3 separate regions of the Homo sapiens genome follow, and regions 2 and 3 are each linked to region 1. The links are contacts of gene promoters, found by promoter capture Hi-C in blood cells and fetal thymus (Javierre and others, 2016). All regions are on one chromosome and are shown on one strand. The core of a region is centred on a gene start or on the middle of the fragment in contact, and the rest is flanking DNA. Distances in the headings are between cores, read along the strand shown.

Evidence for each region. Contacts are between HindIII fragments. The CHiCAGO score rates a contact against its expected background, and 5 or more counts as called.
Region 2: a contact is called between a fragment that was not itself captured here and the fragment with the promoter of OSBPL10 in region 1, in 1 of 17 cell types (endothelial precursors). The highest score is 6.3, in endothelial precursors.
Region 3: a contact is called between a fragment that was not itself captured here and the fragment with the promoter of OSBPL10 in region 1, in 1 of 17 cell types (endothelial precursors). The highest score is 6.5, in endothelial precursors.

Annotation. Positions count from the first base shown.
Region 1 is chr3:31,979,227-31,984,198 of GRCh38, reverse strand. It overlaps OSBPL10 (oxysterol binding protein like 10), which reads left to right and starts at 2,937. Exons shown (of 12, transcript NM_017784.5): 1 at 2,937-3,300. The coding sequence starts at 3,020. ZNF860 (zinc finger protein 860) reads right to left here and starts at 2,449. Exons shown (of 2, transcript NM_001137674.3): 1 at 2,297-2,449. RefSeq lists a silencer at 3,178-3,247 and an enhancer at 4,802-4,851. The HindIII fragment of the contact is 3,310 bases long and covers 1,868-4,972 here.
Region 2 is chr3:31,766,063-31,771,034 of GRCh38, reverse strand. All of the region lies in intron 4 of OSBPL10 (oxysterol binding protein like 10), which reads left to right. Among named protein-coding and RNA genes, the nearest start is that of OSBPL10-AS1, 64 kb to the right of the region's middle. The HindIII fragment of the contact is 1,000 bases long and covers 2,556-3,555 here.
Region 3 is chr3:31,784,786-31,789,757 of GRCh38, reverse strand. The region is part of intron 4 of OSBPL10 (oxysterol binding protein like 10); the gene reads left to right. Among named protein-coding and RNA genes, the nearest start is that of OSBPL10-AS1, 83 kb to the right of the region's middle. The HindIII fragment of the contact is 3,178 bases long and covers 306-3,483 here.

The DNA of each region.
Region 1 (4,972 bases), core at 1,688-4,187:
GCATGGTGGCAGGTGCCTGTAGTCCCAGCTACTGGGGAAGCTGTGAGGCAGGAGAATGACGTGAACCCGGGAGGCAGGGCTTGCAGTGAGCTGAGGTCGTGCCACTACACTCCAGCCTGGGTGACAGAGCGAGACTCCAGTCTCAAAACAAAAACAAAAACAAAAACAAAAAAAACCCCTTAGGCTCTGAATTTTCAGGGAGATTGATTTGAGTAATAATACACTCCTGTGCTCCAGCTTGGCTGGCCCTACAATTGTTAAACTCTTCCTCTATTGCAAAAACCTGCATTGGCTTTTCCGGGTAACAAGCAAGATGAAACTGTTGGGCATTACAGTATGTATTTCAAATACTTTTTGCCAACTTATTATGTATTTTCCAAATTGTTTTTCAAACATAAAGACTTTTTCCTCTCCAAACATAATTCTGCAGGTACCTTTTCCCTATTTGCTATACTACGGTAGGTCAAGGAAAGCTTTCTGGAAGAAGTGACTTGTAATCCATAACTCCATGGGTGAGAAACACAAACCGGGTGAAGAGAGCAGGGAACAGTGTCACCAGCAGGAGGAACAGCATGTGCTTCATCACTCTTTCATGATATAGCCTCTACTTTCAGCACATCTGCTCCACTCACCTCTTGGACATTTTTGATCCCATACGGCTGGCTTGCTCCTGCCCCATCCTGGCCTTGACTATTCCTTTTAGCTTAGTTCCTTCCCCACTTGAACTGGTCTATCTCAAGGGTCTAATTTTTTAGTCCAAGGTGAGAATTTGTTGTGCTAGCTCATTCAGTCTTAGGTTGGCTGCATAAGGTGGAGTAATGGTGGCATAGGTTAGGTAATATGAAATAAAATGACACTTCTCCTCTTTTAGCAGGAGCTTAAGGTGGCAGTCTCCAATAAAAGGCATGTTGTTTTGGTACATAATGCTGACATTTATAGTCCAGTATGCACCTACCTTCCCACCTTCAGTCTGTATGTCAATGCAGGACTCAATGAACACTCATATATGATCAGTAAGTTAGCTTAGGCAAAGCTATGCTGTGGTAAAAAATAATGCTAAAATCTCAATGGCTTCAAACAAACATTTTGTGCATGTTACATGGCCAACACTAACTGGCTTAGGATCTGCTGTATTCCACACCTTCTCACTCCAGGACACAAGCTTAAGGAGAGTCCTTATCCGGGACATGCTGCTCTCCTGGGATAAGGAAAAGAGAAAGATGGTGGAACCATATGACTGCTCTTAAAGCTTATGTTTGGAAGGGGCATTCATTACTTCTGTTCACATTCCATTGCTCAAAGCAATTCCATGGCCAAGCCTAAGGTCCATGTGGAGGAAGGATACTCTTTCCATAGGAAGCGGCAGTAAATATTTTGAACAAATGAACATTCTTGCATAGTTTATTACAGCCGGTATCATTTGTCCCATTTTGCAGTGAGAAAACTAAGGCTAAAAGAGGTAATTTGATCAAGGTCATAGGTTAGAATTCAGCTCTGAATGGCTTCAAATTTGGTCCAGGCAAGCTCTTTTCAGATTTTTTTTTTTTTAACACTATGTAGGCACCTGGAATTGTAATTTACTCAGGGGCACAACCACTTCTCTTCAACTCCAGAAGCTTCTCCGTGCATCTCTAGAGCTAAACCACCCATGAAATCTTCCTGGAAGGATGTGAAGCTAGAAAGGGGTTGGGCTCGGGGAACTGTCCCTTTGAGAGCTGACTTTTCCATTTAGTAATTTTTTTTAACTCTTGAAGTATTTATCTGCTTGATGGGTTTGTAGATCCTTTGGACGGAGATCACCTATCATCTATCACCTTTTGTTTTGTCTGTGTGTGTGTGAGAGAGAGAGTCTGAGTTCCTCAAAGCTTTTTTCTAGGTAATTTTTGATACTTCAGATTACAATGGATATCTATATTCACAAAAAATATTAGTGGGATAGAAAGAGTATCTTTAGGTAGGAAGAGGGGCGCAGAAGTTACAGCCAACACAGAGAATCCTTCAATGTTTGTAAATATCTGTTAATTTCCCTTGCCTCTGGAGCAGTTTTCCCGGTTTCAGAGCCTCTGCTCCTAGGTGCACGTGCAGTGTGGTAGCAATGGATAGGTTTTGACTTGCCAGGTTTATGCGTGCCATTCAGGGCAGGGGATTAGGGTTAGGCCAGTGAGTGACCTAGGACACTCAATTTAAGGAAGCACTCGCACAAACCTGAGAGTTCGCGCGCCTCACCCCAGCCCAGCCGTGTGTCTGTTAAGCATTTATCATAATCCTGCTGCATGAAAATGCCCGGCGAGCTTACCTGTGAGGATCACCTGCCACTCCCCTCCTCCGCCAGACAACGCGGAGGGCCTCCCTGAGCTGTGACTTTGCTCCGCCGGTGATAATTTCCAGGTTACTGTGTAGGAGCGTCTGGCGCAGCATCGTGTGCGGAAGACCGAGAGAGGGAGTGTGCGTGTGAGCCTGTCAGGCCGGGCGGGTCCATATCCGGGTGGACCGGGTGGGTGGGGCTGCCCCTCCCTCCAGGTCCCGAGGTGGATAAGGGGTGGGGAGTGACGTGCAGAGATTCCCTTTCGCCCCTTCGGATCCAAGAGAGGGTGGCAGAAGGAATGCGTGGGTGACTTGGCGTGGATTTAGGGCGTGCCCACCCTGCAGATCGGCCTCCTAGAGTGTCCCGAGGGCCTGAGAGGCCGCAGGGACACGAAGGAAGAGAAGGAGGAACCCGAAGAGGGCTCGCCTAGCCGGCCACCCGCTCCGAACTTGCCCGGGAAACTAGTGCGGAGGGAGGGGCCGGGCCCTGGCCGCGGCGGGAGGAGGGGCGGCCGCAGCTGCATCCAGCCCCGTTGGCTTCCTTCCCAGCTCTCCTTCGCCTCCTCCTCCTCTTCCTCCTGTATGAGTCAGGCATTTCCCGGGGATTTGGAGCAGGCACGCGCGGCCCGGGCGTCCGGAGCTGTAGCAGCAGCAGCAGCCGCCGTGCCGGGGCCGCCACCGCGGCGGGCACCCGCGTCCCGGGCGCCCACGGACCATGGAGAGGGCAGTCCAGGGCACAGACGGCGGCGGGGGTAGCAACAGCAGCAGCCGCAGCAGCAGCCGTGCTACCTCGGCGGGCTCCTCGCCCTCCTGCTCTCTGGCGGGCCGGGGGGTCTCCAGCCGGTCGGCGGCGGCCGGGCTCGGCGGCGGGGGAAGCCGCAGCAGCCCGGGCTCTGTGGCCGCTAGCCCGTCCGGGGGAGGCGGCCGCAGGAGGGAGCCGGCGCTCGAGGGCGTGCTCAGCAAATACACCAACCTCCTCCAGGGCTGGCAGAACAGGTAACGCGCCAGCCGCCCGCGCCACCGCGCGCCGCTGTGTGTGTGTGTGTGTGTGTGCGTGCGTGTGTGTATGTGTGTCTGTGTATGTGTGTGCGCGCGCGATTGTGCCTTCAGCGAACCCAGTGATGCCTCCCAACGGTGCCCTTCCTGCGTCCCTGCTCCCCTCCAGGTGGGGTTCTCAGGATGGGGCGCGCCGTGGCTCCACCCCGGGACCGCACCGCAGTGGCGGGGAGGGAGGCGAGAGCCCTGGTTTTCTTCTATGCTGGCACCTGCAGAGACTGGAGTGGTGGCAGGAGGATCGTGCTGGTCCCCGTGCTCTGCTTGTCCGCGGTTTCCCGCACGCCTGAAGAATGACTGGGAAAGGGAGGCAGAAGGGGCGTGCTTTGTGCCGGGGTGAAAAAGCGTTAGCACGTCCGCTCCGATTACAGTAATTCTCTAAGTAACAGTTCATTTTAAAGTTTGGTGTTTCAGAACACCACCACCATCAACAAAAAACCTGCCACTTGTCATCCTGGGCGACTGTGCATACTCCTGCCCCAGTTTGTGCCTTGCAGCCTCCGATGTTTGTAATGGAAGTTTTGTTTAAAAACAGAAAGAGGCCGGGCGCGGTGGCTCACCTCTGTAATCCCAGTACTTTGGGAGGCCGAGGCGGGCAGATCACGAAGTCAGGAGTTCGAGACCAGCCTCGCCAACATGGTGAAAACCCGTCTCTACTAAAAACAAAAAAAATTAGCCGGGCGTGGCGGCGCGCCTGTAATTCCAGCTACTCCGGAGGCTGAGGCAGGAGAATCGCTTGAACCCCGGAGGCAGAGGTTGCAGTGAGCCGAGATCGCGCCATTGCAATCTAGCCGGGGCGACAGTGCGAGACTCCGACTCAAAAAAAATAAATAAATAAAATAAAATAAAATAAAATAATAAAAAGAAAGAAAAAATACCCTCCCCCTTTTAATATTAGTAGCAATTTACATTATTATCATTATTTCCTCTTCAGGTCCCATTTGAAGTTTCCTGCTCACTTCCCCCTTGCAGTTGAGAAGCCTAGTTATGGACACGTGGAAGGATGGGGCTGTCGAGGAAAGGGGCTCAGGAGGCACTTGGAATGGTGGTAGTGTGTGTGATCTGCCATCGTGAGGAAGACAAGAACAGATGTGGCACTACTGTTTACTTTTTGTTTTTGTTTTTTTTTTCAATTTGTTTTCCAAAAACAAGCCAGAGGGAAATACAAGTGTCAGTGCGAGGAGAACAATGCTTTTTGGAGAGGTGGTTGGTGGGATATTTTGTCCTGCCTATTTAACAGTCTCCAGATCTTAATAGACTTGGGGCTCTTAAGGATGTTTGTGAGATTTGAATTATACCCTGGAAAGTTGCTTATCTCTGCTGCATGGACTATATTACTTGGTTATCTCTTCCTGTAGATTGTTTGGAAATGTTCAGATTTGCTTCCATCTGAAACATATCAGCCAGTTATCTGCACGAAACTCAACTTGGAGGAAGAGGTCTTTTGAAGTATGGAAACTGAGTTGTTTCTATATTGATATTCTACATATAGGACTTTCTGAGTCACCTGGGCTTCCTGGGAGATGTGTTACTATGTTAGTGGAAGTTGCACTTAACTTTTGAATCCTTTTATTTCTCAAAATAGTCCTAGTGTCTGCTGTTGCCTCTCCCTTCC
Region 2 (4,972 bases), core at 1,806-4,305, 210 kb after region 1:
CATTTTACAGGTAAGGAAACTGAGGCCAAGGAAGATTAAACATGCCCAAGATTACAGTTAATAAGTGGTGTCCTCAGCCTACACTCCTAGACACTAAACTGTGCCACTTCCTAGAATGGGGAGAATGGGGTGCTCCCTCGACCAGTAAACAAATTAACTGAGTAGGAGCTTGTATTTTCTCGTATTTTATTATGTATTGTTAGTTTTCCGTGAAGCTGAGCTCAAAACTAGTTCCCTTCTTTTTTTTTGAGACAGAGTTTTGCCCTTGTTGCCCAGGCTGGAGTGCAATGACGCGATCTTGGTTCACCGCAACCTCCGCCTCCTGGGTTCAAGCGATTCTCCTGCCTCAGCCTCCCAAGTAGCTGGGATTACAGGCATGCACCTCCATGCCCGGCTAATTTTGTATTTTTAGTAGAGATGGGGTTTCTCCATGTTGGTCAGGCTGGTCTCGAACTCCTGAGCTCAGATGATCCACCCACCTCGGCCTCCCAAAGTGTTGAGATTATAGGCGTGAGCCACCGTGCCAGGCCTCAAAATTAGTTCCTACAGGCATTTTAGCTGATAGTAAACATAGCAAGTGTCAGACAATGGACTCCTGTTTCTCAAACCAGCTTTACAAACAGAGATGACCTGTTCATCAAGGAGAACAGACCACACAGGATAAATGCTTAAGAAATGGGCTATTTGGGTCGATTATTTTTTAATCTTTGAAATTGTTGATGGGGAATGATATGGCATTAACAGCATTGTAGAGTTGGTATAACCCCCGTCCCCCAACTTTTTTCCAGAGGAAAGGAAAAATAGGCATTTTAAAATTCAGTTTAAACCTGAACATTAGCCTCTCAGGACAGAAATGGGAAAATGCTCCCTGCACCTTTTCTCTTTATCTGTATCAGTAGTCCCTTGCCTGACATCCCTGAGACTACAAGTTTTGGTTTTTTTATTGATTGCTTTATCTTTGACCACAAGTTTCTTTGAGAATCTAATGAAAGTCAAGGACTCTTTCCTTAGGAGGAAAATGCTTCTAGGTACAGGCAGAACCTTGTCATCAAATATATTTTGTGGATATTCCCAAACCCCTTGAAAAACCCATTGAGATGGCATTGCAGGGTCCATAGATTTCAGAACCTTCTTAGGGGATCCATGAACTATTTTCACCATTTAAAAATACCTACAATCAAGCAGTTATCTGTTTCTTTGCTCTTGGCTGGAGTTAAGTGAGCATTTGCTGGGAAATCTGGTTTTCTTATGTAGACAAATAACTGAAAGCAAGAAGTGGGTGAGGTGGGGTTCCTTAGTGGTGAAAAGGTTGGGAACTGACAGCCTATATGGCGTCTCCATCTTCATCTGCCTCTCCTTTTCCCAAATCCTGTAGTCTGCACAGCTACAGTCTAACTCATATATTTTTATAATGAGTTATAATATAAAAATATATTTTTAATAAAATATATTTTTATAATGAGTTATAATATAAAAATATATTTTTAATAAAATATATTTTTATAATGAGTTATAATATAAAAATATATTTTTAATAAAATATATTTTTATTCTGTTTTTTTTTGTTTTTTTTTTGTTTTTTTTTTTTTGAGATGGAGTTTTGCTCTTGTTGCCCAGGCTGGAGTGCAGTGGCGTGATCTCGGCTCACTGCAACCTCTGTCTCCCGGGTTCAAACAATTCTGCTGATTCAGCATCCAGAGTAGCTGGGATTACAGGTGTGCACCACCACACCTGGCTAATTTTTTGTGTTTTTTAGTAGAGACGGGGTTTCTCCATGTTGGTCAGGCTGGTCTCAAACTCTCGACCTCAGGTGATCTGCCCGCCTCGGCCTCCCAAAGTGCTGGGATTACAGGCTTGAGCCACCGTGCCCAGCCGTCTGTTCTTTGATTATTTCATGCTTGCATGTTTTGTCTCCTCTGTTCATTCTTAAGACCATTTGGGTACCACTTCTTAAGGGCCCCTTTCTTATTTTCCATGGGGCTTGGCACTCAGTAGTTCAGTTGGCTTATTTTTCCGCGGCTGCCGTCTTCTCAGGAAAGTGCAGTGTCTGCCAAAGGTGTCCATTCTTTTGTCAGCAGGGGGCAGCAATGGAATGGGCAAAAATGGTCATTGTTCTTCAGATTAACTTTTCAGAGCTCTAAGACCCTTTAAGGGGTAATACCTACCCAATGTGAATGCTGAGGAAATTGTTTGTGAAATAAATGGAGCTTGATTAAAATCTAGCATATATTTCAATTCGAAGCAATATTATTGTTTTAACTAGAGGAATTGCCTTGTTTAGAGGTGTATGTAGGTTTGGGTTCCTGATGCGTTGGGGTGGCACAGAGGGTGAAGTATACAGTCAGAAGCCTAGGAAGGGAGCCAGTGAGCATTTCCTCAGGCTGCCGGTTACCTTTTATTGCTACTAAATTTACATGAACATAGGCCAATTTATCCCTGGAGTGAAATATGTATTTATGTTGTAGTGTGGAAAGAATTACATGTGTTTATTTTACATCTGGGAAATCTGAAAAAATATCTGCAAGAGTACTAATATTACACATTTTCTAAAAGCTTCGTTTAAAGGTGGTGAATTAATAGTACACAGATAAGTCTAAAGGGAGACAATTTCTAATTATTTTCTGAACTGAAGGAGAAAATGCATTTTCCTTCTATAAATGGTCAGATTAGCCAAAAATTGGGCAGCCCTGAGATAGGAGTTTGGTAGGACTGGTTTTGCAAGGTATGGGTCGCAAAAACCTCCCCTGATAAAAAGAGATGCCTACCAAAACCAAGGGGGCCATGAACGTGACCTCTCGTGGTCCTCACTACTGGTCATATGCTAATTATAATGCATTAACATGCTAAGAGACACTCCCACCAGCGCCATGACAGTTTACAAATACCATGGCAATGTCTGGAAACTACCCTATATGGCCTAAAAGGAGGAGGAACCCTCAGTTCTGGGAATTCCCCACCCCTTTCCCGGAAAACTCATGAACAATCTGTCTCTTTTTTAGCGCACGATCAAGAAATAACCATAAAAATAGCCAACCAGTAGTCCTCAGGGCTGCTCTATCGAGTATCCTTTACTCCTTTACTTTCTTAATAAACTTGCTTTTACTTTACTCTGTAGGCTGGCTTTTGAATTCCTTTCTACATGAAGCCAACGACCCATGTGACCTCCCAGGCTGAACCCAAATTTTGAGGTTCGCCTTGTGACAGCCCCGACTACTGACACAATTGTGATAACTGAAGCAGAGCATTTTCACCTGGAAGAAACAAATCTGAAGTCTGAGGCTAGACCCAGAGCCTGAAGGGTGCATTCAGTGGTTCATTTAACACTTAATTAGGGTCACCTTGCACTAGCCAGGTGCTATGGGAGTGGGGACATGGGCCTGCTCCCCAGACCTCAAGGCCTTACAGAAGAGAAGGGCAAGTGCTCACGGGAGGGCTCTGAGAGACTTGGGGCACGGGGACTTCTAAGTGGGAGATAAGGAAGGCTTCATGAAGAACTGAGGAAGGGCATTGGAAGCCTGGTAGGACTTTGACCATGAGAGATGGGGAGGAAAAGCTTTCTAGGCAGATGTAACCTGACAGGAATTCAAGAGGTGTCATGTTGCCCAAGTAGGTAGTGTATTTATGAGGAGGCAGGGACAAGATACAAAGCCACCGTTTGTGAGAATTACACACAATTATATTTTTTAGATCCTGTACTTTCCAAGTGGTTATTGCAGGGACCACAGTTGAGTTTTTTTCTCACTGGCTTAGTGATGGTCGTGGGAGAAGAACTTATTCCCATGAACAGAGGGAACTGTTTTAATCACAACTGCATGAGCAAAACACAAGAGGGCTCTTGAAAGAGAGAATTGGCTAATATTGTAGCAAAATCCAGAGCTCCTCAGTGGTAATTTTAATTTCCACAAAGTTAATGAAAGTATAGCCCTCCAGACCTGATATGAAAAAGTAGTATAACGTAGCTAATTGGGTTGTTTTCTAGACTTAGGAATCACCAGGGAAAGGCTAAGCTTAGAGAGGACTGTGGATTGAGCCCTCATCTCTTTTTAATCTCCTCTATAACCTGGCAGATTCTATTGGCTTTTCATTATGAGATTGTACTGCAAATGAAAGAAAGAGGAGGTGGGGTGTTCTGGGCTTGGTTACAGCTGGGTGTTTATCACAGGCATTTATAAGAAGTTAGTACACTTTCAGGCCCTCTGACAGGAAGCTTTGTAACCTGGCATTCATGTCATGCCAGCATTAAGTTTAGAGAAATGCTCCATTATTTGATTAATTGTCTTGGATAAAAGCCTTAACTGATGTTCCAGTTGACCTACAAATCTTGTGAAGTGAGTTTTAAAAGTATTTGTAAATAGTATGTATCCTTATAGCTCATGAATGTCAGAATTCTACACTGGGGCCAGCACAGTGGCTCATACCTGTAATCCCAGCAATTTGAGGGGCTGAGGAGGAAGATTGCTTGAGGCTAGGAGTTCAAGACCAGCCTGGGCAACATAATGAGACCCCATCTCTACCAAAATAAAAATTATCTGGGTGTCATGGTGTGAGCCTATACTCCCAGCTACTTGGGAAGCTGAGCTCAGAGGATCATCTGAGTCCTGGAGGTTGAGTCTGCAATGAGCAATGATTGTGCCACTGCACTCTAGCTTGGGTGGTGATGAAGTGAGACCGTGTCTCAAAAAAAAAACAAAAAAAAACAAAAAAACAAAAAAACTACATTGGGCCAAACATCACAGAGCAGTGGGCAGAGGGAAGACCCTATGTTGAAGTGGGGGATCTGTGTCCACATGGTGTGTCACATGGCCACTGTTTTCCACATCTCCAGTGTCAGCTGAGTGGGCTCAGGCAGGCATGTGACCCAGAGCCAATAACGTAAACTCACTTTCTCTCATCTGAATTAGGAGAAGAAACTAGAGGATTGGGTAGATTTGGCTCCAGCGGCTCTGCTGGGCTTTGTTGCAAGTGGAGGAAG
Region 3 (4,972 bases), core at 645-3,144, 190 kb after region 1:
GTCTTAGTCTCTTCTAGCCTGATGGTCCTCCTACGATGTGGCCTGGCCTCCGTTGCCTATGGTGCTGTGTACCTGCTGACTTGCAGCTCCATCCTGATCTGCTCCCCCTGCCTGGGCTCTTGCCCTCACGGTATCTTTCTTGAGGCAGTGCCCCTGCCTGGCAGTGCTCCCGGCTCTGCACTTGGTCCCCCACCACTTCTTTCACAGGCACATGCCGAGTTCTGAGTCCTTTCCTGGACCTTCAGGGACTTGTTTGCTCTGCCCTGTACCCTATAGGAAGAGTTTACAATTTAGACTTCTAAGCTTTGTTCTGGAGAACTTCAGCATCTGTTTTCTTTTCCAACAAAGGCTGACTAGACTACTCTTTCATGATGGACTCAAGGACCTGAAGAAAGACCCCTTGGTAGTGTCACCTACCCCTGCCACCCTAGAGTGCCTTTCATTGAATCTGTGCGTGAAGAGTTTTCAGACCACAGAATCTACAGGATATGGAAGAAAATATTTCATTAAATATATGTATGAAATAAACATCCTAGCCGGACATGGTGGCTCACACCTGTAATCCCAGCATGACCAACATGGTGAAACCCCTCTCTACTAAACATACAATAATTAGCTGGGCGTGGTGGCATGCGCCTGTAATCGCTGTGACTTAGGAGGTTGAGGCAGGAGAATCTCTTGAACCTGGGAGGCAGAGGTTGCAGTGAGCCAAGATCGCGCCACCGCACTCCAGCCTGGGTGACAGAGTGAGACTCCGTCTCAAAAACAAAAAACAAAACAAAACCAAAAAAAAAAAGAAAGAAACATCCAGGAAGGAAGTATACTAAAATGTTCATGATTTTCTCTGGATTAATGAAATTGTAGGTGAGTTTTATTTTTTCTTCCTCATGCCTTCTGTATTTTCCAAATTTCCTACAATGTCTATATAATGTTTTAATAATTCCATAAAGCCAATTTATTTTTATTATTATTTTTTTTTAGAGGCAAGGTCTCACTTTGTTGCCCAGGCTGGAGTGCACAGGTGGCATCATAGCTCAATGCAACCTTGAACTCCTGGGCTCAAGTGATCCTCCTGCATCGGCCTCCTAAGTAGCTGGAACTACAGGTGTACACCACCACACCTACCATACAGCCATTTTTAAATGGGAGTTTTTTCTTTTGGCTTCCTTGAATGTTAGAGAAAAGGGGCAAAGTTACTGATTAAATATAGTATGCATTTTGGATTACCTGTGATTTTTAGTCTTCCAGGCTTCTTTCTTCCAACTTTCCTATCCCACCCACCACCAAATTTGTAAAACAAGATCAAGAATTATATGCTTACCTGTCACCAGCAGATGGAATCAGGAAAAGGACTAAGTGGAATTAAGAATTTAGGAAAATGAGGCTTCTATCATTTCTTTGATACTTGTTTTGACATTTATTCCACACTGATAATAGTTATCTTCTATTAAATGACATTATGGCAAAATGTCATAGGATTTTATAGGATAAAATTTGGCACAGTAACTCCTTTCAGTATTCCTGTTCATGTTGATAGTTCTAGAAAACTAATTTCTTGTAACCCTGCCAGGGTCAGATTGCTGACATCTCTGAAATCTAGATACAGGCTTATCTCTAGACAGCTTTAAAATTTATTCCAGAGTCACCTTTTCTGGGAGAAAAAAAACAATAACCTAATCAATATGTCCTTTGGGAAGTATTAGCAACATTTTCTCATCTTTGTCAATTTGTGTAAATATTATTCATTTATTACATTTGTGATGGGCAGAATACTTTCTTTTTTACTTAATATATGTTTCCATTTATATTCTGTTTGTGCATTTTAAAGTAACTATATTCCATTTATATATTTACTTAAAAATACCAAATTCCTTATAATTTATTTAAATACTCATTCTGTTGTCGGGTATTTATGCCATTTGCCATTTAAAATCCTTATTTTGGAAATTATTCTGAACTGCACCTAGAAGGCATGTAGATTTCAAATTTCTTAGCAAAACATGATGTGAAGCATGTAGACTGTGAACCAATCTAGGACTGAGTGGTCTGTCTTTGATCTGCTGTCTTGCTGATCAACAGGGTTGGTGTGGCTGAACCGGCTGGCTAATCCTTCCCAAAGGACATATTGATTAGGTTATTATCATGTCTTTTTTTTTTTTTTTTGAGGCGGAGTCTTGCTCTGTCGTCCAGGCTGGAGTGCAGTGGCGCAATCTCGGCTCACTGCAACCTCCAGCTCCCGGGTTCAAGCGATTCTCCTGCCTCAGCCTCCCAAGTAGCTGGGACTACAGGGACCCGCCTCCATGCCTGGCTAATTTTAGTAGTTTTAGTAGAGATAAGGTTTCACCATATTGGCCAGGCTGGTCTGGAACTCCTGACCTCAGGTGATCTGCCCGCCTTGGCCTCCCTGCTGCGATTACAGGCATGAGCCACCATGCCCAGCCTATCATGTCTTTCGAATCCATTATATATGACTAAAAGGACCAGACCTTTTGTAGTTAAATCAATCCACAAATACCCCTGAAGCCTAATTTTTAGGACTTTAAAAGAATGAATATTGGCAAACCGAATTCCTTGTGATATTTGTGTATCCTTCGAGAAGTAGTAAATCATTCAAAATGCAAACAAACTAAGGGACATGAAGAAGTAAGGAGGCAACAACCATATCGTGACCGCTTATTCTATGCCAGGCATTGTGCAGAATACTTTTTCATAGTTGTCTTATTTAATTCCAGAACAACCTGGCAAACAGATAATGTTCTCTCTACTTTTGGAAATTGAAGACTAAGGAGTTCTTAAATCATTTGCCTGAAATTGCATCTAATAAGGAGGTGCGCTGGTTCAGATCTGTGTCTGCCAGATTAAAAAGCTGCTGCTGCTGGTCTGGCCCATGCTGCTCATATCTACAAAAGTCTAGCTCGTAGTAACTGAGAGTTACCTGAGAAGTGTGCCATGATGTATTCTAAATGGAACAAAGACTTAAGAAAACCAAAACCAAAACTTTTAAAGTGCTTAAATCATACAATATATATATATTTTCACCTGTGCTATGGTTTGAGTGTTTGTGTCCCCACCACAATTCATGGTGAAACTTTAATCTCCAGGGCAACAGCGTTAAGAGGTAGGGCTCTTTGGAGGTGATTAGGCCATGAGGTCTCTACCATCAGCAATGCCTTGTAAAAGGGCTGCAGGGAACTCTTCCCCTTCTGTCTGTCATGTGAGGACACAGCAAGAAGGTGCCATATGAGAAATGGGCCCTCACCAGACACAGAACCTACAGGCACCTTGATCTTGGACTTCCCAGCCTCCAGACTGAGAAAGTAAATTTCTACTGTCTATAAATTACCCAGTCGTAGGTTTATAGCAGCCCAAGTGGACTGAGATGTCTCAGGATGGAGAAGGCTTTTTAAAACGTGACTCAAAAAATCTTAAGCCAAAAACAACAAAAAAGAGAAGTATAAATTTGACTTCATAAAAATGAAAGCTTCATGGCCAAAAATATGCCATAAGCAAAGTCAACCTGGGGGCAAAGTTACAACTCATCACATAGATGAGAGACCAATTTCCCCGTTCTATAAGGGTCTCCTAAAATTGGTAAAGGAAAACCCAAGAACCCAGTGGAAAAAAGGAAAAAGAATATTAGAAGGTGGCTCACTGAAAAGGAGGGAATAATGGCATCCCTGGGTCTTTGCCTCTATCCTTGTCTGGTTCTGCCCAGGCTTTGGCACATGTGAGAATCATGGGAGTGATTCCAAAGTCTAGTTTGGGCTCTCCAACTTCTACGCAAGTTGCCTTTACCTACAGTGATGAGCAATTGAGGTGGAGTCTTTCTGGATCACAGTGAATCATAACTGTGGCCATTTTATGCCCAGAAGCTTGAGTCTCCCAGAATCCTAAAGCCATGCTCAGAGTAAGGTTCTCTGAATTTCAGAAAATTATTAAGGGAAGGCTAGGACTTTAGTTTGGGATTATTGTCTGTCAATGACCAGGAATTATCTAGTAACTTGCAGTACCTGAGGATAAGCCTTACAAGAATCCCAGAACAGAAAATGTTCAGGACTGAGAAACATGCCGAGGCAATCTAGTTCAGTCTCTTCATTTTATAGAATGAAAAGAAAAAAAAACGGCTCAGAGAGGTCGGTGGTTTGTTCAGAGTCACCCACGATGTTAATGGTGGAGTTGGATCTCCTGACTGCCAGTCCAAAACCCCTTCCATTGCGTTGTGCTTGTAAGTAGGCCTTGGGGCTTACTGAAACAGCTTTAAGACAGATGGATTCCAGTCTGGGAATTCTTCCTCGTGATTTAAAAATTGCCTGGCCAGATCTGGATTTTATCTTGGTTTTTCCTGTTTCCCTGTCTCCCTCCCACAAATACCAATCAAACACGCCTACCATGTGCTGTATACTCTTTTCTTTCAAGTTAGCGTGTTTTATTCAGTTACAGTTAGTTTATGTATATGTATACACTTTTCATTTTTATTTTGGATAAAATTGAGGTCATATATACAGTTTTATATTCTGTTTTTCCATTTATTACATTTTAGCTATTTTCTGATATCATCAAATGAAAATATGGTTCAAGACTGCGGTGGTTCACGCCTGTAATCCCGGCACTTTGGGAGGCCGAGGCAGGCGGATCACTTGAGGCCGGAAGTTCAAGACCAGCCTGGCTAATAGAGGGAAACCCCATCTCTACTAAAAATACAAAAATTAACCAAGTGTGTTGGCAGGTACCTATAATTCCAGCTACTCAGGAGGCTGAGGCAGGAGAATTGCTTGAACCTGGGAGACAGAGGTTCCAGTGAGCTGCTATTGTACTACTGCACTTCACTCCAGCCTGGGTGACAGAGCGAGATCCTGTATCCCCACCCCCCCGCCCCCCCAAAAAAGTTATATTAAGTCATACAGATTAACACTTTGGGAGGCCAAGATGGGCGAATCACTTGGGGCTAGGAGTTCAGGACCAGCCTGGCCAA